Regions from separate parts of the Homo sapiens genome. Here all the other regions are linked to region 1. The links are contacts of gene promoters, found by promoter capture Hi-C in human tissues and cell types (Jung and others, 2019). All regions are on one chromosome and are shown on one strand. Each heading gives the region's core, a stretch centred on a gene start or on the middle of the fragment in contact. The rest is flanking DNA. Distances are from core to core; before and after follow the strand shown. Region 1 holds the start of TM9SF4 (transmembrane 9 superfamily member 4). Region 2 overlaps TPX2 (TPX2 microtubule nucleation factor). Region 3 overlaps ASXL1 (ASXL transcriptional regulator 1). Region 4 has its middle 14 kb from the start of MYLK2. Region 5 overlaps ASXL1 (ASXL transcriptional regulator 1).

Evidence for each region. Contacts are between HindIII fragments. The study calls those that stand out against the background at their distance.
Region 2: a fragment that was not itself captured here is called in contact with the fragment with the promoter of TM9SF4 in region 1 in 1 of the 25 tissues and cell types used here (lymphoblastoid cells).
Region 3: a contact is called between a fragment that was not itself captured here and the fragment with the promoter of TM9SF4 in region 1, in 2 of the 25 tissues and cell types used here (mesenchymal stem cells and small bowel).
Region 4: a fragment that was not itself captured here is called in contact with the fragment with the promoter of TM9SF4 in region 1 in 1 of the 25 tissues and cell types used here (mesenchymal stem cells).
Region 5: a contact is called between a fragment that was not itself captured here and the fragment with the promoter of TM9SF4 in region 1, in 1 of the 25 tissues and cell types used here (lymphoblastoid cells).

What each region holds. Positions count from the first base shown.
Region 1 is chr20:32,106,985-32,111,803 of GRCh38, forward strand. It overlaps TM9SF4 (transmembrane 9 superfamily member 4), which reads left to right and starts at 2,730. Exons shown (of 18, transcript NM_014742.4): 1 at 2,730-2,771. The coding sequence starts at 2,757. RefSeq lists enhancers at 2,047-3,246, 2,249-2,993, 2,651-2,830, 2,994-3,736. The HindIII fragment of the contact is 9,910 bases long and covers 1-4,819 here.
Region 2 is chr20:31,746,095-31,750,913 of GRCh38, forward strand. All of the region lies in intron 2 of TPX2 (TPX2 microtubule nucleation factor), which reads left to right. Among named protein-coding and RNA genes, the nearest start is that of TPX2, 9.2 kb to the left of the region's middle. The HindIII fragment of the contact is 3,114 bases long and covers 1,064-4,177 here.
Region 3 is chr20:32,427,896-32,432,714 of GRCh38, forward strand. ASXL1 (ASXL transcriptional regulator 1) reads left to right here. Exons shown (of 13, transcript NM_015338.6): 5 at 233-353; 6 at 430-527; 7 at 1,443-1,536; 8 at 2,006-2,158; 9 at 3,426-3,589; 10 at 3,688-3,784. Among named protein-coding and RNA genes, the nearest start is that of ASXL1, 72 kb to the left of the region's middle. The HindIII fragment of the contact is 7,689 bases long and covers 1-4,819 here.
Region 4 is chr20:31,802,859-31,807,677 of GRCh38, forward strand. No RefSeq gene overlaps it. Among named protein-coding and RNA genes, the nearest start is that of MYLK2, 14 kb to the right of the region's middle. The HindIII fragment of the contact is 6,356 bases long and covers 1-4,819 here.
Region 5 is chr20:32,392,557-32,397,375 of GRCh38, forward strand. The region is part of intron 4 of ASXL1 (ASXL transcriptional regulator 1); the gene reads left to right. Among named protein-coding and RNA genes, the nearest start is that of ASXL1, 37 kb to the left of the region's middle. The HindIII fragment of the contact is 9,568 bases long and covers 1-4,819 here.

The DNA of each region.
Region 1 (4,819 bases), core at 1,480-3,979:
TATTTTCCTCAGCTCTGGAGGTCACCTTTTTACTCTGTTGTTTCTTTTGCTGTGCAGAGCTTTTTAGTTTGATGCAATCCCACCTGTCTATTTTTGCTTTCGTTTCCTGTGCTTTTGGTGTCATATCCAAAAAATCATTGCCCAAGCCAATGTCAAGTTTTCCCTATGTCTTCATCTAGTAGCTTTACAGTTTCTGGCCCTATAAGTCTTTAATCCATTTTGAATTGATTTTGTATATAGTGTGAGATAAAGGTCCAATTTCATTCTTTTGCATGTGGATATTCATTTTTAGGGATGACGAAAATGTTCTGGAGACGGATGACGGTAATGATTGACAACTTTGTGAATGTAGTTGATTTCACTGATTTGTGCACTTAAAAATGATTAAAATAGTCAATATTTAGTTATGCATATTTTACAACAATGAAAAATATTTAGGCCGGGTCCAGTGGCTCACACCTGTAATCCCAGCCCTTTGGGAGGCCAAGGCAGGCAGATCACTCGAGGTCAGGAGTTCTAGACCAACCTGGCCAACATGGCGAAACCCCATCTCTACTAAAAATACAAAAACTCAGCCGGGCTTGGTGGCATGCACCTGTAATCCCAGCTACTCAGGAGGCTGAGGCAAGATAATTGTTCGAATCCGGGAGTCAGAGGTTACAGTGAACTGAGATTGCGCCACTGCACTCCAGCCTCGGCAACAGAGTGAGACTCCATCTCAAAAAAAATTTTTTTCAGAAAAAAAAGAGAAACTTGCCCATGTTATGGAGCTAATGAGTGGTGGAAATGCGTTCTGAACCCAGGCAGTCTAGTTCTAGGATTCTGGCATATGTCACCAAAAGAGATTGGGATATGAAAGGCCTTTAGGGAAAAATACAAAGCATGAGAAAAAAAATGGAAATACTAAAAAATAATAGGCCATTTATGGAGCTTTGCTCCTTATCAGTTATCTTTCTTCAGGCAGCTAGAAATGGTGGGAAACACTCAGGATCGAAGCTCTAGGAAAACTGGTTCCAAGTCTGGAAACTATGAGACTGCAGCAAATTCCCCCTAGTCTCTCAAGCTTCCTCCTCCTTGGGGTTAATAGCCAATCTGCCAATCTTCAGGATGGTTGTGCAGGTCACAAGAGTTAATGGGTGTGTGTTTCAATGATCTATTACTGAAATGATCTATAATAAACCACCCCACTCTAAAGCTGGGCTTAGCTGGGCAGTTCTTTTGGTCCACATGGTGTTCATGAGGTTATTCATGTAGCTGCATTCAGCTAGTAGCTCAGTGGGGGTTGGAATGTCCAAGATGACTTCAGTTACATATTATAGTGCTTAGCTGTAGTTTCTAGAATGTCTTGAGGAGTTGGCTGGGCCTCCCTCTCTCTCCAGGTGCCTTTCCAGCAGAGTAGCTACACTTCTTTATAACCAAGAAGGTAGAATCAGACGTTTTCAATCCTCTTAAGGCCTAGGCTCAGTACTGGCAGAATCACTTGTAGCACATCCTATTGGTCAAAGCAACCAACATGACCAGCCAGATTCAACAGGAGGTAAAACAGAGTCTATCTCTTGAGGAGAGAAACCGTATGCTCATCATGCAAGGACGGACAGAACTACGTGGCAGCCATCTTTGCAGAAAATCCACCACAGTGGTGCCCATAGGTGGGGATCAGAGTTCAACTGTCCCTTGCCCCCTAGAATTAGATAAAAAGAGTCTAATGAACTGTTAGCATAATGCTAAGTGCTGCAGCACACAAAATGCTCGGCAAGTGCTGATGATTATTATTAATCATTATTATTCTTTTAATAGCTTTTTTAAAACAGTCTAAGATAGCACTGGTACTGTATTCAGTTTAAAGTGATATACATGGGTCAAATGAACTTTGAGTTCTTTCCCAACCTTAATACCATGATTCTTTGAGTCTCTTTTTCACAGATTTGGAAACTGAGGCTTAGGAAGATTGCGTGACTTGTCTGGAGTCACACACTAAGCTAGTGCATGACGTCCACATTCAGAGATATCTCCCTCCACTGAATATGCTGGTTTTCACTCGTTCATTTAAAAAATAATGTATTGGGCATCTACCACAAGCCCAAAGGAGTATACATAAACATATACTGACAATTATTTATTGAATACATCCTATGTAATACTGTGTCACTGAATCCTCATCACAAGCCTATGATGAACCAACCCCCTTCCCATTTCACAGATGGGAATGAGGAAGAGCAAGGTAAAAAACGAACAAACAAAAAAACAGGGTCCACCCTCATGGGGATTACAGTCTACTAAAGAGGATATAGGATAGTCAAACAAATACTTAAAATCAAACAAATACTTAAATATATAATTACAAATTATTCTTGGAGTCGTACTGCTCTTGGAGCCCCAGTGCCCACCCTTTCCCTCAAATCAAGGTCTCAGGTAACCCTGGCAATGGGTCTTCCTGCCAGTAGTAAAGATGGCGCTGAGAGCACGAGCGCACTTTCGCACACCCCCATTACCCACAATGCAGCGGGAATAAGGGAGGCTCAGTTTCTGCCAGGAGCTAATATGGCTTCCTTAGTTACACCGTTCTCTCTCTTCACCTAATCAGCGACCTTACTTTCCCAGACCAGACTGTCGAGCAGGAGCTAAGACTCCTTTTCCCCTCTGCTGACCGCCACTACAGGAGCGGTTGAAGCCAGACGACCACCTTGTGGAGTTAAACTCCGTAACCAGGGAGCACCACTTCCGCTGACGTCATTACGGCGACACGTGGATCCAAGATGGCGACGGCGATGGTGAGTGAAGGAGACTCCGGGAGCGGGAGCTGGAGCGGGGCCCTCCGGGGTATCCCAGGATCTTCCAGCACCCCATGCCTGGCCCTGAGCCACCTCCGGGACCCCTGACTCAGGCCTGAGGGCTACCTCTGACTGGGCTTGTCTTCCCCGAAATCCACCTCCCTGGCCCTGCCCCTGCACTCAGGCTTGTGAAGGCCCCGAGTTTTGGGGGAGGCGCCGTTTCGGAGGAAGACCTCGGCTGCTGCCTTCGCCGGTTCCCATTCTACTTTTGGTCTCCGCCCACTGTGAGCCCCATTTTCCATTTCTCACCTCCCTGTCCTGACCCCTCTGAAGACCCCCTCCCGTTATTCTCATCCTTGCTCCTCCCCGTCACGTCCAGACCCTGCTCTCCCCGCCTCCCCACCATCATAACCAGTCCGCAGATGTGACCTCTCCTCTGACCACCCTCCCAGCCCAAGCGCTGCCTCAGATCCTTTTCAGAGCCCTGTCCTCACTTACACTCATAGCTGTCCCCATCGCGCACCCCCTTGACTGCCGCTACCCCAGAGCTTGCCTTCACCTACCCCACCCCCATCTTTCATCCCTAGAGGCTTCCCTGCCCTTCCTGTCTTCTCTCAGTCAACTCCCTGCCCCTCTCTTAGGGACCTTTTACCCTGTTGGTTCTCAAACTTTACTGTGCATAAGAATCTCGAGGTGTGTAGGGGGAGGCATGCTAAAAATGCAGTTTCCTGAGCAGCCCCACTCCCAGAGATTCTAATTCCATAGGGCTAGGTGATGCCCAGGAATCTGCCCTTTTATAAGCACTCTAGTGATTATATAGTGGAGGTGGTCTGTGAACTACGTTTTGAAAAACACTAATAGCCCCACCTCACTGCTCTCCTTCCCATTCCCCAACATGGCCACACAGCTCGTTAGGGATGAAGGCTCTTTATTATGAAGCTATATGTTGGGATGAAGTCTGTGTGTGGATGAGGGTGGAGGTAAAATAGCCATGCTTGGAAGTTGGGTCAGAGCTTGCGGGCTCCTGGTGCAGAACCTTGGAAGTAAATCTTTGAAGGACTGGCCCTTTTTCTAAAAGTTTAGTTCAAATTCTGCTTGTCAAGAGACCAGAACTAAAATTGAAGTCACTTAGTCCAGAATGATTTCCTGGGTCTTCCTGCATACTGCCTCCTCAGCAGATAATTTCGTCCGGGGAGTGAATGACAAGGAAGACTCAGAGAAAAGGAAATGACATTTGACTTTAGCAAAGGAAGATTCTGGCTTAAATAATTTGGTGTTGGTTTTCTCCAAACAGGGATATATTATTGACTGGTAGCAATTTTCCCTCCTTCTCTTAGCTGACTGAGAACTTACCTTTGTTTAATGAGGGATTCCTTATTTAGAACTTCAGAGGTCAGGTAAAAAGATTTCATGGCCTTACCTGGTTTCTGTGGTTTCAGACTTCAGGCTGAACCACGAGTGGGGCAAATCCTCAAAGTAGTATGTTGAAACCTACATATATGTATATATATTCTGGTACCACATTCAGAACAGAGATAGTGTAAGAACTTAAAAGGAAATCACACCCTCTCTTGCTATAAGGAAAACATTGAGTAAAGTGGTATTTACGGCACTGCACTGGGAAATCCCTGCCTTGTTCAGAGATTTTTAAGAGGTTATAAGCTAGCAATACATATATGTGGTACACATCTATTTAGTCAACAAATATTTGAGTACCAATTCTGTTCCAGGAACTAGGGATGTAGTTGTGAATTACAGGGTCAAGGTCCCTACACTTGTGGAGCCTTTCTGGTTTGAGGAGACAGGCAGTGAACAAGTAAATACGTGAACAAAATAATGTCACCAGTAGATGCTGTGAGGACAGCAAAATGAAGTGATAGTGATTAGGGGTGACTGGGTGACACAACTACTTTGGATTGAGTGGTCAGAAAGAAGTCTTCTCAGAGGAGGTGACTTGAGTTAAAACATAATTAACAAGAAGGAACCAGCCATGCAAAGAATGTTCCAAGCAAAGGAAATGGCAAGTGTAAGGGGCCGATGTGGAAGGG
Region 2 (4,819 bases), core at 1,371-3,870, 360 kb before region 1:
TGAGTGTTGGACAGTGAGGGATTGTCATTGGATTTTAAATTGACCCAATTTTGGAAGCTTCATAGATCTGTTTCTGTAAACAGATCCAATTTCAACATAGAAGTTAGCAAACATAAATGTGGAAACACAAAGTCCATTAAACTTCCTTCAGACTTAGTTTGTGACTTTGATTAACAGTTAAAATTGCATGCTGGATTATGTTGCCATTTACTGACTGCTGCTAATCCCTTATATACAAGAAAAAAATGTAGGTGTTTTCTCTCTGGGTAAGATGAAAGTAACTCCACTCTATTTTACTTGTGGTAATGTAACAGGATCTCTTATCCCTTGTGAAAGTAGGAGAGGATGTCCCTGGAGAAATGGCACTGCCTGGGATGGGACCATCTTAACTAACTATACTTCTAATGAAGTCTTGTCTTACTCTGTTTATTCTATTATATTACCAGTTTAACTCATGACTTTCTCTTTAATAGAAATAGGCAAGTCATATCTCACTGACTGGATAGCAAGGTGTTTGAGAGCATCTGTCACACCAAAGTCTTTGTTTTGCTCAGGAGCTGGTAGTCCCCTATTTCACCCTGCTTAGAATGCACCCTCTTGCAGCTTTCCCCAACCCGGTCTGAACCTGCACCTTTTGATTTATAGAGCTTGTCAAGACTAGTTATTTTTGGTTTGAGAGTGAAGAAAGATGGGAGGCAATGGGAGGTTAATTTCAGATGAATGTGGGAACAGGTTACATTGCTTTGTCTGCAATCTTCCTAATTTGTATTTGTCTTCCCCTTCCATTTATCTCTTACCCTAGAAAAAGTCAACGTTCATTCTTAGCTTGTAGAACTCCGCAGGTCTGTCTGTATCTTTTAAGTATTTTTTACATCAGGAAACCATCTCTGATCCTCTTTTATGCTGTTCTCCTTCTCTGCACTTCCAGAGCGCTCTCTGTTAATGCCCTCTTGCAGCAAGGATAGCCCTATATTGTAATTGTTTGCATTCCCCCATTCAATTGTGCGTTCTTGGAGGGAAGAGATTTTTTTTTGTTGTTGTTGTTTGAGAAGGAGTCTCGCTCTGTCCCAGGCTGGAGTGCAGCGGTGCAATCTCGGCTCACTGCAGCCTCCACCTCCTGGGTTCAAGCTATTTTCCTGCCTCAGCCTCCCGAGTAGCTGGGATTAAAGGCACGTACCCACCACGCCCGCTAATTTTTGTATTTTTAGTAGAGACGGGTTTCACCATGTTGGCCTGGCTGATCTCGAACTCCTGACTTCGTGATCCGCCTGCCTTGGCCTCCCAAAGTACTGGGATTACAGGCATAAGTCACTGTGCCCGGCCGAGATTTTATATCTCTATCTCTGTCTGTCTGTCTGTCTGTCTGTCTATCTATCTATCTATCTATCGTTTTAGTCTTCGCTTTTTGGAAACAAAAATGGGCTATAAGACACGATGGATGGCATTGAATAGGCAGTTTTTAGAGGAACCTAATTGGTTCATAGCATACAGGATAGGCTTTTTCCTTGGGTCTTTGTAGGAATATTGGTCATTAATAGCTATTTTTCCATGCAGAATATTTCTAGTTTTGCAAGAATCTGAAGCTGTGGTAGATTCAGATAATTTTGAAATGTGAAGCTGATTCTCTTGCTTGGCAACTTGATTTGTTTGGGGGAATGTGGTTGACGCATGTGCCTTTTTTTTTTTTTTTTTTTTGGTGAGACCTGTTGACAGAAATTCAATCTTGATTAAGGGACGCAGGAAGGCATCCAGTTCCCACCATGCCTGGGGCTCTCTCATTTAAACAGCTGCCTTTGGCTCTGGCCTGTTCCATTTCCCACTAGGCCCTGTGGACTTTAATTTTGGAAGATTTCACATCCTCATATTTATTATTTCTGGGGGAGGTAGTGTCGTGAAACCGAAATTACCCAGTAGTTAGCTTTTCGTTTTCTTGATGTACTTGTCCTATCAGCCTTAATTGAAGAGAGTCAGACTTCTCAATGGATATGTATTTATTTATTCTCTTTTTCCAGGGAGAGGGGATGGTCTCCTGAGTTGGCCATTCTAGACCAAAATATAGCTTAAAAGAAGCTTTTTTAAAGAACAGGTCATGTTAGGAAAATAATATTTTGTTTTTAAAATTTCACCTAAAGATTAAGTGTACTTAGGTTTGCACCCCTCGCCGTTTGTTCCCCACTAATCAAATGTAGTCTTAGACCTCAGAGGACAGCCTTTCTTCTGCTGCTTGAACCCTCTTCATAGTCTCTTTACTCTAGAATATCACTGAGGTTTTCACTAACCACCATCTTATATAGAGGAAAAACTTCATATGGAAAAGTATACTTAAAAAAAGAGGAATCAATGGATTTTTTAAAAAATTTATGGGAAGATTCAGATCAGAGCTTTCCAAATATATTTATAACAGGATTTGTAATTTGCTAAAGTTTTCTTTATGAGCATATCAGGGATGCTTAGTTTTCATAAAGGGCAGGATTTGTCTTTGTTGAACAGGATCTTATGATTTGATTACCTACCTCCTTTTTGAAGCAATGTTTATAGGAAAACTTGTGCATTAGAGAGACCCCAGATTTTGGAATCCTGCAGACTTGTTCTTTTAAAACTCAACACTGCTATGTATTAGTTTGGTGATCTTGGAATAGTGTAACTTCTCTGAGCTTGTTTCCTTGTTTATAAAATGGTGATGGTAGCATTTATTTATAAAGACATCTATCTATTGTCTATATTGTTAATGCAGTTTAAACGAGATGATTTATGTGAAGTGTCTGGTAAGGTGCCTGGCCTACAGTAGACAGTATTTGGAAGTTATTATCTCTTGCTCCATGACATTTGTTATTTATCTATTTAAATGTGAATTTTTTTTTTTTTTTTTGAGACAGAGTCTTGCTTTGTTGCCCAGGCTGGAGTGCAGTGGCGCGATCTCGGCTCACTGCAACCTCCGCCTCCTGGGTTCACGCCATTCTCCTGCCTCAGCCTCCCGAGTAGCTGGGACTACAGGCATCCACCACCACGCCTGGCTAATTTTTTTGTATTTTTAGTAGAGACGGGGTTTCACTGTGTTAGCCAGGATGGTCTCAATCTCTTGACCTCATGATCCACCCGCCTCGGCCTCCCAAAGTGCTGGGATTACAGGCGTGAGCCACCGCGCCCAGCTTAAATGTCTATTTTTAAATAAATAGGCAGTGGATAAGAACACCACCTTCGGTGTCTATTCCATTTGGAATCCTGGCTTTACTGCTTCTTAGCTGCATGACTGTGAATAAGTAGTAAATCTCTCTGTGCCTCAAGTCCCTCAGTATAGAATGAAGATAATAACAGTACCTACTTTATAGGATTATTGTGAGGATTTAGTGAGTTAATACATGTAAGACACTGTCAACAGTGTCTGGCATGTCATAAGTGCTCATTAAGTAATAGCTGTTGGCCGGGCACGGTGGCTTACGCTAGTAATCCCAGCAGTTTGGGAGGCTGAGGCGGGTGGATCACTTGAGGTCAGGAGTTCAAGACCAGCCTGGCCAACATGGTGAAACCCCGTCTACTAAAAATACAAAAAATTAGTTGGGCATGGTGGCAGGTGCCTGTAATCCCAGCTACTCAGGAGGCTGAGGCAGGAGAATCACATGAACCCGTGAGCCAGAGGTTGCAGTGAGCCAAGATTGTGCCACTGCATTCCAGCCTGGGCGACAAGAGTGAAACTCTGTCTCAAAAAAAAAGAAAAAAGTTAATAGCTGTTTTTATTTTTAACTTTTTCAAATTTATATACCCTTTTATTAAGTCAATGCCCCAGGAATCATTTTTAGTTCTATATAGAAATCTTATTATTTGTTTATTTTTAATTTTTTAAATTAATTATTATTATATTTTTGAGATGGAGTCTTACTCTGTTGCCAGGCTGGAGTGCAGTGGCACGATCTTGGCTCACTGGAACCTCCTCCTCCCGGGTTCAAGCTATTCTCCTGCCTCTGCCTCCCGAGTAGCTGGGACTACAGGCGCATGCCACGATGCCCAGCTAATTTTGTGTTTTTAGTAGAGACAGGGTTTCACCATGTTGGCCAGGATGGTCTCGATTTCTTTTTTTTTTTTGAGACGGAGTTTCGCTCTTGTTGCCCCGGCTGGAGTGCGATGGTGCGATCTTGGCTCACTGCAACCTCCACCCCCCAGGTTCAAGCAATTCTCCTGCCTCAGTCTCCCAAGTAGCTGGGATTACAGGCATGCACCACCACACCTGGCTAATTTTATATTTTTAGTAGAGACAGGGTTTCTCCATTTTGAGGCTGGTCTCGAACTCCTGACCTCAGGCGATCCGCCCGCCTTGGCCTCCCAAAGTGCTGGGATTACAGGTGTGAGCCACCGTGCCCGGCTATTTATTTATTTATTTATTTATTTATTTATTTATTTATTTATGAGACGGAGTCTCACACTGGAGTGCAGTGGCATGATCTCGGCTCACTGCAACCTCTGCCTCCTGCATTCAAGCGATTCTCCTGCCTCAGCCTCCCGAGTAGCTGGGATTACAGGCATGTGCCACCAAACTCAGCTAATTTTTGTATTTTTAGTAGAAAGATGGGGTTTCACCATGTTGGCCAGGTTGGTAGTTCTATATAGAAATATTAGAAAGAGAATATGTAACATTTGGGTAAGTTAATAGTCAATTTATAGGCCACGTAAATGGGAAGGATTATTTCCTTAAATCAAGAGATTAGACAATCATTGCTTGTCATGAATATTTAATAAAAATTTGAGAAAGCTCAGTTTCTTTTGGGCTGCAAACATAGATCTAGGGAAATAAATACTGCTTAACTATTTTGTTGTTGTTGTTGTT
Region 3 (4,819 bases), core at 656-3,155, 320 kb after region 1:
AGGAGGCACCCTATAAATGTTTAATGAATGTTTGAATGCAAAAGTGTATCTAACTTTCTTAATGATATATTTATGAAAAGAACTTGCTGAGAAAAAGGTCAGTTAGAAAGGGTTAGGAACTTGTCAGTATTCTAAATCCCTCTTTTTCAAAAGCATACACATTTAGGAATGACTGCCTTGCTTTAAGAATTTGTAGGGTTTTGTTCACCTGAGTTGTACCTTGCTGTCACAGAAGGATGCCCTGCAGTGGTCTCGCCATCCAGCTACAGTGGAGGGAGAGGAGCCAGAGGACACGGCTGATGTGGAGAGCTGTGGGTCTAATGAAGCCAGCACTGTGAGTGGTGAAAACGATGGTAAGGACCCTTTAATGGATGGGTGAGGGAGCCACAGCAGGCACTAGGGACTAACCTTTATTTTCCTCTCTTCCAGTATCTCTTGATGAAACATCTTCGAACGCATCCTGTTCTACAGAATCTCAGAGTCGACCTCTTTCCAATCCCAGGGACAGCTACAGAGCTTCCTCACAGGTAAGGAAGAGGTAGAGCCTAGCCTGGGAGGATGAATGATGACAGGTATAAGGCAAGATCCCTCCTTCTCCTGTAGTGAGCTGTGAACATGTTCAGAGAGTGAAGAATAGAAGTCTGGTCTCCAGCTGTTAGTAGCATTTAACAGGGGGCCGCAGGAAAAGTGAACAGTAGGTTTGAGCAGAGTAAGTTTTTTCTCTTTCTTTACCTTGGCTGAGTGATTTTGTTCATTCTTTTTTTTTTTTTTTTTTTTTTTTTTTGAGATGGAGTCGCGCCTGTCGCTCAGGCTGGAGTGCAGTGGCATGATCTCCGCTTACTGCAACCTCTGCCTCTGGGGTTCAAGCAATTCTCCTGCCTCAGCCTCCCGAGTAGCTGGGATTACAGGCACGTACCACCGTGCCTGGCTAATATTTGTATTTTTAGTAGAGATAGGGTTTTGCCATGTTGGCCAGGCTAGTCTCGAATTCCTGACCTCAAGTGGTCTGTCCACCTCAGCCTCCCAAAGTGCTGGGATTACAGGTGTGAGTCACCATGCCTAGCCTGATTCTGTTCATTCTTGTAATATACACGTGAACATTCAGGGAGAAGTGTGGTTAGTGCAGAGTAGAGAGAACAGGAGATTGGGAGTGAGCAGTTTGAATGATAACCCTGCACTTACTAGCCTTGAGACTTGGGGAAAATTCCTTACCTGTAAAATGGGGATAACAGTACATTTTTGTAGCTTGGAATGATGCTTGGCACAGTGACCAGCACGTAGCTCAGTAACATTAACCAGTGCTCTTGTCAGCATTATTTGACAGATCTGGTTGAAGACGAACTTCATTTTACAAGAGCGTGAGTAGAGATAGTGTCGCCAGGGAATGCTTTTGTGGCTCTGCAGTTGACTTGGGCTCTCTTTTGTTCTCTCTTGGAACGCAGGCGAACAAACAAAAGAAAAAGACTGGGGTGATGCTGCCTCGAGTTGTCCTGACTCCTCTGAAGGTAAACGGGGCCCACGTGGAATCTGCATCAGGTATGTGTAAACTCATGGTTGTGATGCTTTTTCCTCAGGTCCTGGGGACCTGGCCTCCCTCTGTCAGCAGTTTCTGACCTAATAGTGCGATACTAGGAGAGCTGTCGGGCCACAGGCAAGAGCCCTGCCAATGGATGAGGCCTGCCATAGGTTCTAGTGCTGGGCTCTGCTGTGTGCCTTCCTCTTTGTCTCCCAGGGCAGTCGTGAGGATCCAACGGAGGATTTGATTATGCCAGTGCTTTGTAAAAGGTGTAGTGCTATACAAATAAAGATGGCAGTTTGGCACCTGTAAGGTGATATTTTAAAGCCAGACCATGAAGTGGTGGTTTCTCTCAGCCTAAGGCTGGGAGATGGAAGCATCCCAGTATTGCTGGCAGCATCTCAGGGAGAGCTGGGAGAAATGAGCTTGTCTGAGAGCCATGGGCGCGGCTTGGTGATACTTTTGACCAGTGGAATGCTGTGCCTTCAGGGTTCTCGGGCTGCCACGCCGATGGCGAGAGCGGCAGCCCGTCCAGCAGCAGCAGCGGCTCTCTGGCCCTGGGCAGCGCTGCTATTCGTGGCCAGGCCGAGGTCACCCAGGACCCTGCCCCGCTCCTGAGAGGCTTCCGGAAGCCAGCCACAGGTGAGTGGCGTGGCACTTATTTCTCTGCCTGTAAAGGGGGCCCCTGCAGGCCTAGTGAGAAGATGATGTCTTCTATTCCAATTCCTTTACCAGTTTATTTTTACTTCTTGGGTGGCCCTCTATTTTTTGTTTATTTTTACTTTGTAATTTGCTTATTTCATTTGTAGCTCTCTGCTAAACTGTGAGAACTCCTTTCAGGCAGAGATGATGCCATACTGTTTCTCGTATGTCCCTGTAGGCCTAGTCTATGCCTGCCTTGTACTGCATAGTAAGTGTTTGAGTGAGTGAAAACTGCTTCTGAGCTTCTCAGTGAAGAATTCCAACACCCCTTTTCTCTCTTCGGTAGCATGTTGCCACATTTGTTCCCAACATCTGTAGTCTGTATCAGACGCTCCCTTTTTTACAACCTAGTCAGTATGTTGAGTGGAAGCATGTGTTGAATTTTGGGGATGCAAACAAATTCAGTAGTGCTATTATCTATACCTCCCACCCCTCACCCCACCCCACCCCCATTAGGGTTATTTGCAATATTAGTATGCTCTTTGCTATTTCAGGATTTAATTCTTAATGACCCACATGCTGGTTTTTTTTGTAGATGAAACCATTAAGAAGACAAGCTTTTGCTTCTGAGAATTAGAGTAAACCTTTGCCCATGTGAGAACTAGGTTTGCTGTCTTGCTGCTTTTCCAGCTCATCAGCAGTGCTCAATCTAAGGTCTCACAGGTCTCTAGTCCTAGTGAGTTTTTCAGATAAAAGTAACATTTGCTGAGGCTTCTGTGAGAGGTATTAGCATCTCAGTTGGCTTTGAACAGTCCTTAGTACATTTCTGCATGGAGATCATCCCTCTCCAGCCCATTCACAGAAGGCTTCTGCAGATTTTTCTATAGTATACTAACTAGATTTACTTTTAGATAATTCTCATGATTTCTCCAGTTGAGCTTTGTGGAGCCTGTTCTCCAGCTTTGGAGGGAAGCTCAGAACCTGCCCCTTGCCTGATTTTCTGTGGGAAGTGTCCTTTTCAGGCTGTGACACAGCACGGTACAGAGTTTTGTCTGAGGAGATGCAACCCCAAGTGTTCTCCTGGGTTTGATGGCAATGACAGTAACCTGGAAAGAATATACAGGTTAGGATGGACTGGACAATTGAGCAGATTGTGTGCAGATAACTCCTGGGTAGCTTGGGTGCTGTCACCAAAGTTTTCCCATCAGTTGGCATTTGTTTTTTCTTTTAAAAAGCTGAAATCTATACCTTGCTTCAAAAATCATAGGTCAAATGAAGCGCAACAGAGGGGAAGAAATAGATTTTGAGACACCTGGGTCCATTCTTGTCAACACCAACCTCCGTGCCCTGATCAACTCTCGGACCTTCCATGCCTTACCATCACACTTCCAGCAGCAGCTCCTCTTCCTCCTGCCTGAAGTAGACAGACAGGTGCACATGGGCAGCCTCCCCTTTGCCTCTCTCTGGGTGGGCTTCTGTTCTCTTTTAAGTTTATTTATTAGGATTTTTTTCCCCCTTGATCCTTCTAGGTGGGGACGGATGGCCTGTTGCGTCTCAGCAGCAGTGCACTAAATAACGAGTTTTTTACCCATGCGGCTCAGAGCTGGCGGGAGCGCCTGGCTGATGGTATGTAGACTTGGTCATCTCGGACGGCTTGCGACGCACCTGTCGTGTGGTGTTGCATGTCTCCTGGTATTTAAAACCCAAGCTCGCTCTTCTCAAAGGGTTATTTAGTATAAGACAGGCTTTCCTCATTACTAATAAATGTGGTGGGTATTAATATGCCACACAGCTCTGAAGAAATAACAGGGTGTTTAGGTTTAGACTTTCACTATATTGTATGTATGTACTCATTCATCATCTCCTTTTTATCATTAAAACTATAAACACCTATTCCAGTAATCATGGCATGGTCTGGAAGGGTGGAGGAAAGTACACTGTGGAGTTGAGAAGCTCCACCATGCTCTGTCTTTTTAGGCATTGTCACTTGGAGTGATTGTTAGCTTCTATTAATTTAATTTTGTGGGGAAAGTGTTGAGAGGGCTCTAAGAACACCCCTAGGTTTGATGATTTGCTAGCAGGACTCAGCATATAGTTATATGTACAGGGCTGCGGTTTATTACAGCAGAAGAATACAAAGTAAAATCAGCAGATGGAGAGGCACATGGGGTGGGGTCCAGGGGAAACCATGTGTTGGCTTCCAAGGTCCTCTCTCAGTGGTGTCACACAGGACACATTTAATTCCCCCAGTAACAAGTTATGATAACATGTATGAAATGTCTACTAGGGAAACCTGTTAAAGACTCGGTGCCCAGGGTTTTTATCAAGGGCTGATCATGTAGGAAGCCACTGCTTGGCACATACCCAGCTTCCAGATTCCCAAAAGGAAGGCAGGTGTTCAGCATAAGCCGTATTGTTTGCATAAACAATTTAGGCACAGTGAACAACTCATATCAGTTAGGGTGGTTGGGAACCCTCCTGAAATCTAAGTTCCCAGATGTCAGCCAAGGGCTGTTCTTTTAAGTAGGCCTTTCTAAGAGTAAACAATCAGGCCTACCTACTATGTTAACTTTTTATCTACACAGGAAATATGAATGGTTCTTTTGTTTGTTGTTTTGCTTTTTCGATCAAGGAGTTGCTTGGTCTCACTTTAAGGAAGAG
Region 4 (4,819 bases), core at 934-3,433, 300 kb before region 1:
GTGACCACACCCAGCTAATTTTTTGTGTTTTTAGTAGAGATGGGGTTTCACTGTGTTAGCCAGGATGGTCTCGATCTCCTGACTTCGTGATCCGTCCGCCTCGGCCTCCTAAAGTGCTGGGATTACAGGCATGAGCCACCGCGCCTGGCTGTGACTCGTAAATGTTTCTTGTATACATCTCGAGTAGAGCAGTTATACTATATCTGAGTTACTTGAACTTGTTCACAAATTAATAGAGATACAGATATGTAAGTTCCTTGAAGACAAGAATTGCCATAGCCATCTCTTGTTTATTGTGGCTGGCACAGAATTGGCTTAGGTCCATGTTAAACAATATATTTTCTTTTAGAATTCACATCATTTTTGAGTATCAACTCTATCATTCATTGCGTGTGCTAGGAGATACAAAAGCATCTGGATTCTGCCCAGGCTAGTCCTAGGTACCATATATGACCTGAAACTTATTTTATATTCATTTTTTTATTCAGTGAGCATATATGAATCTCTTATGTACAAGTCATTGTAGTCCCAGCATTAATTGACAAAGCAAGATGGTGTTTCTCACAGTATGATTTGCAGATCCTGGTCCTCCTGAACCCCCATAAACTGATGCGTGAAGAGTGGAGAATGAAGGGGTGTCCTGGAACCAATTCTCCACGGATACTGAGGGATGACTGTGTATACCTTAGCACTGTTCTAGTCTCTGGGAATACGTCAATGAACAAAAAAAAAGACCTTGCCTTCATGGAGCTAACATTTTAGTAGGAGAGAGAGACAGTAAGCAAATAATTTAAGCTCTTGTGTAAGGTGACAGACGTGCTGACTGCTATGTGAATAGATGGGTTGGGAGTCGGGGGCATGTGAAATTGTAATTGGGAAGGCGAGGAGGTTCTCGGCTGTTGTGCAGGTGAGAGCTGACAGTGACTTGGGTTAGGGTGGTAGCAGTGGCAGAGAGGAGAAGTGGTTGGGTTCTGAATGTGTTTTAAAGTTGTAACTAACAAGACTTCCTAACAGATTGGATTTGGAGAGTGAAAGAAAGGTGGGCACCTTTCTTTCTTATAGAGGGCACCCAGGTGTCAGCCCCAAACAGAGACAGGGTCCATCCCTTGTACTGTGAGAAATCCAGTTCTACCCTAGTCCTTTTATTTCTTGTGGGTTCACAGCAGCATTCATTTTTTTTCTGATTTCCTCTTGTTTTTTTCCACTTCTGCTTATCTCTTGATCTCTGTGTCTGTTCTTTGTAGATTTTCTCTCTACTGGTATCAGCATTTCTCCTCTATCACTATCATTCATGTATTTCCATCTGGAATCATTTTTTCATATACCTTGTCTGGTTTTGTTCGTTGTTGTTTCAGGCAGGGGAATAAATCCGGCCCTCAGATTGAGGGTTTTGGGAGTGTTACTGAGAATTATGGATGTGAGGGATCCTTCTGCCCCATTTGCTCCATTCTGGATAATCCCCTGTGCAAACTCATGTCAGTGGTAATAAGTGACAGTCTGTTAGAGGCCACAAAGAGGAGTTACATTACTTTAGAGAAAGTAGCTTAACACTGAGATGTCAACATTCAGTGCCTCTTGCTTCCCAAAATTTCTCAGTTTCCCAGGGGCAATCTTTTCCTCCACCACATGGTCTCTTGCCTAGTACTGAGCCCTCTTTTTCTGGACCACCGCACATCACCTTCATTTTTCTAGCACACTCTCCCATTTTTCCCAGAAACTCAAACTTTCTGCTTGCATTTTACAGAAAAATTATTTTATTCATCCCTTCAGGCCATGTGCTAATAGGAGCATCATCTTTCCACACTCAGGTCACTCAGGAATTTTCCTAAATAAAGAACATATCCTGAGATAAGAATTTACTGAATTTTAAGAATTTAGCTGCTACTTTTTGCTCGCCTTTTTTTTTTTTTTTTTTTGGGAGATCTCGCTCTGTCACCCAGGCTGGACTGCAGTGGCACTGTCTTGGCTCACTGCAACCTCTGCCTCCAAGCGATTCTCCTGCCTCAGCCTCCTGAGTAGCTGGGATTACAGGCACATGCCACCACACCAAGCTAATTTTTGTATTTTTAGTAGAGACGGGATTTCGCCATTTTGTCCAGGCTGGTCTCGAGCTCCTGACCTCAAGGGATCTGCCCACCTCAGCCTCCCAAAGTGCTGGGATTACAAGTGTGAGCCACCATGCCTGGCCTTTGCTTGGCTATTTTGCAAAGCTCCTAGCACATACACACATGCAGATTGTCAGAATTCCTGGGAATTCTGGGAAATCTGGGAAGCATGCTGCTTTGTTTTCAGTGCATTTTTAACTTGGCCATGATTTCCTATTGCTGATATTTTTTTTTTTTTGAAACGGGGTTTTGCTGTTGTCACCCAGGCTGGAGTGCAGTGGCGTGTTGTCAGCTCACTGCAACCTCTGCCTTGCAGGTTCAAGCAATTCTGCCTCAGCCTCCCGAGTAGCTGGGATTACAGGCATGCACCTGGCTAATTTTGTATTTTTAGTAGAGAGGGGGTTTCTCCATGTTGGTCAGGCTGGTCTTGAACTCCCGATCTCAGGTGATCTGCCTGACTCGGCCTCCCAAAGTGCTGGGATTACAGGCGTGAGCCACAACGCCCAGCGATATTCTTGTACTAATTAATATATGTATAAGATTACTGCTCACTCTTAGCTTTGGTTGATTGTTTTGTCCTGTGTAATTGCTTGGTTACCATTTTGATTGTTTTATTCCTTACCAGGTCTTTTTTCTAGAGTCTTGTCCCTGGGAAGTGGAGCCAGCATGGTAGACAGAACAAAGTTGCAGTTGCTCCAGCATTTAACAGAGATGAGACCTGGACACGAATAATCGTAACACAAGATGGGATGTGATTCAGTAATGTGAGACAGAGTGCTGTGGGAGTTTAGGGATTGTTTTTGAAAGTGAGGTTGCAGTTTGTAAAGGTTTTTTTTTTTTTTTTTAAAGTAAAATTTGCAAAAGTAGTACTGCCTTTTGGAAACAAGTAAAATGCTACTAACTGTATGAAATAAAACACGAAAGTCTCCTTCCTTCCCCTACTCCCACGTCCCAGTGTAACCCATGGTTCGCAATAGGATTCTTCCAGAATGTTTTCTCTGAGCACACACATAGAGCATTTTTTTTAAAAGAAATAAGATAGTAGTAGCATTATGCATTTTTAAAAATTTTAATTTGTTCTTTAAAAGGTTATACATTCACATAGTTCTGAATTGAAAAGATACAAACGTAGAGTCTTCCTCCTGCCTTTTCTTCCCAACTGCTCAGCTCCCCTCCCCAGAGATAGTGCTGCCAGTTTCTTAAGTTCCCTTGCAGAGACTGTTTCTTCCTATACATACTCCTACCTACCCTCCTTCTCTTATTTTTTTACACAAATAGCATCATACTTTACACTCTGTACCTTGGTTTTTTCATACATGTTGTGCATTTTAAAGATGTAGTTCAGGTGCCACCTCAGGCATGTCCTGGCTTCCTTCCTGACAAGTATGAAGCCTCTTATGACAATCTAGTGACATGGAGGCAGACCTGCATGATGTCCTGGGTTTGTGACCTGAGGTCCCAAGGACTAGAGGGCAAGGTAGCAGCACCTGGTCCTCATCTCCTCCTGGCTTAATTGAGCTTTGGGGGCTTGCGTATTGTCTTGAGTGTTTGGTTGAACCTGTATATCCTGTTGGATCAATCTTGATATTGCTTCCTTTTCATTTCTCTCGATGAAGGCCGTCTTACTGAATCTTGTCTGCTGGGGAAGTTCCTCATTGCTGAGAGCAGCAGTTAAAAAAGCTGTTAGCCACGTGGCTGGGCTCCTATTTCTGCAGAGGCAGGCTGAGTTACAGCTTGGTGGTGTGGATCCAGGTAGGAATTGGTCAACATTCTGAATCCTGAGCTGCCATCTGCCTCGTAGCCTGCTGGGATGCTCAGTTTAGACAACATATAAAGTTTCCTGGATACGGGACAAACCCAGGCCTATGGAAAGAGCAGGAAGGTTAAAGTGTGTGGTACTTTGGGCAATGACGAAGGCGTAACCAGGGAGCTGACATGTTTGCTCCAAAGCCAAGAATTCCAGGACAATTTGTTATCCAGCTGAAGCCAGTGTAGTTGCTACAAAAAAGCCTGGGGACAAAAGCATGCTTTTTACTTGTTTCCCTGTCTTCTTGCACACCTACTCTATTTTCTAAAGCTGTAGTAAAGGTTGCTGACATTGGAAATGTTTGATGATTTTTGCTATTCTCCTCGTAAATGAATAAGAGTCTGGGCTCAGGCCAAACCATGGCTCTATGTGCTGAAAGTATCAGCTTCCTGAAACAGCTTCACAAATGCTGACATTTCACTCAGACCAGGAGGGTCAGGGGAAAGGCCTAAGCAAGTACTAGGTTTTATCATGAAAGAATGATTTCAACAGACTAAACCTGGTCTGATGGCATCAAATGCCCTTCCCCCACCTTTTTTTTTTTTTTTTTTTAAAGCATTATTGGTCAGAGAGGAAATAGAAACTTGGGCTGTCAGATCTGAAGAGACCCACATAGCATGGGACTGGTGTCCCAGAACATTGCAGGTGTGTGAATGCATGAAGAGTTGCATCCAAGTGCTATTGCCCAGCTTGTTTGGGCACTGATGGTCTCAGGTCTTCTTTCAGGAGCAAGGGTGGGAGACATTTCCAGTGGGTCAAGATACTAGTCAGTGGTCATAACTTGTAATGTGAAAAGCAGTCTGGGGCAGCCTTATTTAAGCTTGCTTAGTGGTGAAGAGAGAGGAGAAGGCTGTAGCCTTGCACTGACGCACCTCTATCACCATACTCAGGGACACTCTGTGACACA
Region 5 (4,819 bases), core at 1,543-4,042, 290 kb after region 1:
AGGCGGGCAGATCACGCCTGTGCTGGGAGGCTGAGGCGGGTAGCCACTGCTCCCAGCCCTGAAATCTTTCCTCTTTTCTAAGATAGACATTTAATGCACACACACATTTTGATATGCTATGTTTTAATTTTCATTCAGCTTAAAATATCTAATTTTTCTTTTGATTTATTCTTTAACTTACTGATTATTTAGAAGTGTGATATTATATTTTGGGAATAAAAATCCAGAGATCTTACTGTTACTGATTTTTGATTTAATTCCATTGTGGTAAGAGAACATACCTTATATGATTTGAATCCTTTTAAATTGATTGAGACTTGTTTTATGGATCAGAATAAGGTGTCTTGATAAAGGTTCCACGGGCACTTGAAAAGAATGTGTATTCTACTGTTGTTAGGTAGAGCATTCTATTAATGTTGATTGGCTTGTTGATTGATAATGTTCAAGTCTTCTGTATTCTTACCGATTTCCTATTCTATCAGTTATAGACAGAGGGTGTTAAAATCTCAATTCTGTTTTGCTTGTTGATTGATAATGTTTAAGTCTTCTGTATTCTTACCGATTTTCTGTTCTATCAATTATAGAGAGAGGTGTTAAAATCTCAATTCTGTTTGTTTTTGGTTTGAAATTTACTTATAAGGTACATAAGCATTTATGATTGTCGTCATCTTGATGAATTGGTCTCTGTCATTTTGAAATGACAGAACTTACTTTGTCTCATAATATAGCTACTCGTGCTTTTCATTTGATTAGTGTTTGGCATATATTTTTATATTTTAAAAAAACTTATCACCTGTGTCTTTATGTTTAAAGTGGTTTTTTTTCCCAGGCATCATGTGTTTGGGATCTTGCTTTTATCCAGTTTGATAGTGTTTGCCTTTTAATTGGAGTTTGTAGACTATTTATGTTTAATGTGATTACTGATTTTTTTTTGAGATGGAGTCTCGCCCTGTCGCCCAGGCTGCAGTGCAGTGGCACGATCTCAGCTCACTCCAACCTCCGTTTCCCGGGTTCAAGTCATTCTCTTGCCTCAGCCTCCCAAGTAGCTGGGACTGCAGGCACCTGACACCACACCCGGCTAATTTTTGTATTTTTAGTAGAGATGGGGTTTCACCATATTGGCCAGGCTGGTCTCAAACTGCTGACTTTGTGATCCGCCCACCTCAGCCTCCCAAAGTGCTGGGATTACAGGTGTGAGCCACTGCGGCTGGATGTTTACTGATTTTTATAGAGTTTAAACAACCATCTTTTCTATTTGTCTGATGTGGTGTTTTTTTCGTTTTTGTTTTTTTAAGATGGACTGTCACTCTGTCGTCTAGGCTGGAGTGCAGTGGTGCAATCTCAACTCACTGTAACCTTTGCCTCCTGGGTTCAAGCAGTTTTCCTGTCTCAGCCTCCCAAGTAGCTGGGATTACAGGTGCGTGCCACCACACCTGGCTATTTTTTTTTTTTTTTTTTTGGTTTGAGACAGAGTCTCGCACTGTCACCTGGGCTGGAGTGCAGTGGCGCGATCTCGGCTCACTGCAATCTCCGCCTCCTGGGTTCAAGCGATACTCCTGCCTCAGCCTCCCAAGTAGCTGGTATTACAGGCGCCCATCACCACACCCAGCTAATGTTTTGTATTTTTAGTAGAGACAGGGTTTCACTATATTGGCCAGGCTGGTCTCAAATTCCTGACCTTGTGATCTGCCCGCCTTGGCCTCCCAAAGTGCTGGGATTACAGGCGTGAGCCACCGTGCCTGGCCTAATTTTTGTATTTTTAGTAGAGATGGGCTTTTGCCATGTTGGCCAAGCAGGTCTCGAATTCCTGACCTCAAGTGATCCCTGCCCTTGGCCTCCCAAAGTGCTGGCATTACAGGAGTGAGCTACGCCATGCCTGGCCTGGATTGAGGATTTTTTAGTGGTTCATTTTTAAGTCCTTTCTTGGCTCATTAGTACTTTGTTATTTTAGTGGCTGCTTTAGTGTTTATTGAGTTCAGCTTGTGAAACTCAGTCTTTAATATTATACCACTTCACCTATATTACAAGAACCTTATAGCAGTACACTTCATTTTCCCTTCAGACTTTGTGCTATGTTTGTCATACACTTCACTTTTACATATGTTGTAAACTCCACAATACATTATTATTTTTCATTTAAGTAGTCAATTTTTTTAAAACAATTTTTTTTTTTTTGAGACGGAGTCTCACTCGGTTGCCCAGGCTACAGTGCAGTGGTGCAATCTTGGCTTACTGCAGCCTCTGCCTCCTGGGTTCAAGTGATTCTTATGCCTCAGCCTCCTGAGTAGCTGGGATTACAGGTGCGCCCCATCATGCCTGGCTGATTTTTGTATTATTAGTAGAGATGGGGTTTTGCCACGTTGGCCCAGCAGGTCTCGAACTCCTGAGCTCCAGTGATCCGCCTGTCTTGGCCTCCCAAAGTGCTGGGATTACAGGCATGAGCCACCATGCCTGGCCTAAAAAGATTTTAAAAGTAAGAAAAAATGTCTTTTACTTTATATGTTTTCCATTTCTGGTGTTCTTTATTGCCTATGAGCGGTTCCAGATTCTCATCTGCCAGATTTTCTTCAGTTTTTTCTCGTCAGTTCAGATTTTCTTTCTGCCAGAGGACTTCCTTTAATGTGTTTCTTGTAGTGTAGGTCTGCTGGTGATATCTTTAAGCTTTGGTGTGTTTGAAAAAGTACTTCCTCTTGTTTTTAGAAAGATATATTCCTTTGATACAGAATTCTAGGTTGACAGGTTTTTTTCATTGTGTACTTTAAAGATGTTGCTCCACTGTCTCTAGCTTGCATTATTTCTCCTGTAAAATCTGTTGTTATTTTAATCTTTGTTCTTCAGCGAGCAAATTTATCTTTTTTGCCTTTTTTGGTTAATTTTTAAGATTTTCTTTTTATCACTGCTTTTTCAGCAATGTGTTTATTATATACTTTGTTGTAGTTTGCGTCATATTTCTTGTGTTTGAATTCTCTTGAGCTTCATGGATGAAATTTACGTATTCAGCTACTATTTCTTGAAATATTTTTCTTTTGTACTTCCCCACCGCATCTGGAGTCTGTAATTACATGTATATTTGGCTGCTTGAAGTAGTCATACAACTCACTGATGCACTGTTATGTTTTTTAGTCATTTGATTCTCTTTGTTTTGGGTAGTTTCTACTGATCTTCATTTCACTAGTCTTTATCTTTCCCATGTTAAATCTGTTACTCTTATCCAGAATTATACCTTTTATCCTTAAAAATTCAGTTTTTTTCTTTTTTTTGAGACGGAGTCTCATTCTGTCACCCAGGCTGAAGTGCAGTGGCATGATCTTGGCTCGCTGCAACCTCCGCTTCCCAGGTTCAAGCGATTATCCTGCCTCAGCCTCCCAAGTAGCTGTGATTACAGGCATGCATCACCATGTCTGGCTAGTTTTTGTATTTTTAGTAGAGACAGAGCTTCACCATGTTTGCCAGGCTGGTCTCAAACCCCTGACTTCAGGTGATCCACCTGCCTCAGCCTCCTAGAGTGCTGGGATTACAGGAATGAGCGACCACACCTGGTTTGTTTCTTAAAAAACATCTTATATTTCTCTGCTTAACGTGCTCAATGTTGAACATGTGAAATATAATAACTTTTCATAATCTCTTCTGATTCTGTCTCTATATCATCTTTGGGTCTGTTTTTATGTATTCTATTTTTCTTGTCATTATGGGTCAGATTTCCCAGTTCTTTGCAATCCTAATAAATTCTGTTTAGATGAAAGACATTGTGAATTTCACTTTGGGTTGTGGATATTTTTGTATTCATGTTGGTATTTTTGAGATTTGTTCTGGAGTGCAGATGAGTTAGCTGGAAACTAATTCTTTTGAGGCTTGCTTTTTAGCTTTGTTAGGTGGGGCGTATCCTTTCTGTGTTTATTTTTGTAAGGGTATACAGATATACATGTTTTCTTATTTCCCTCTTTATTTATTCTTATTTAATCTGTAACAATCTTTTTCCTTATATTCGTAACATTCTTAGTTAGGGAGTAATTACCTCTTCCCTAACTGTTGCATTAGCTTCTTAATTGGCACTCTGGTTCCCAGACTTTTTCTGTCTCTAATGCAGTGTACAGACTACTGTCAGAATAATTCTAAAGCACAATTCTGATATTGTCACTGTATTGCTTTTCAGTGCCTACAGCAGTAGGATTCACTTAAAAAATTATTCCCCTAATAGTAATATAAAAAATTTTTTTGAGCTCAAACTCTCATTCTCTCTCAGTATACATATTTGTTTATACATGAGGTCACATACTGCTTACTAAGTTAGCATTTTTTATGTGTTCATTTTGAAATAACTCTGAACAGTGGTATCCAATCTTTTGGCTTCCCTGGGCCACATTAGAAGAAGAATTGTCTTGGGCCACACATAAAATACACTAATGATAGCTGAATAGCTAAAAATTAAACATTGCAAAAAAAAAAAACAAACAAAAAAAACTCACTGTGGCTTTTTTTTTTTTTCCCTGTATTTTTCTTTTTCCCGAGATGAAGTCATGCTCTGTTGCTCAGGCTGGAGTGCAGTAGTGTGATCTCGGCTCACTGCAACCTCCGCCTACCAGGTTCAAGCAGTTCTCCTGCCTCAGCCTCCCGAGTAGCTGGGATTAAAGGGGTAAGCCCCCATGCCTGGCCTTTTTTTTTTTTTTTTTGTGGGGTGAGCGACCATGCCTGGCTTTTTTTTTTTTTTTTTTTTTTTTTTTTTTTGGTAGAGATGGGGTTTCATCATGTTGGCCAGTCTGGTCTCGAACTCTTGACCTTGTAATTCACCTGCCTTGGCCTCCTAAGGTGTTGGGATTAC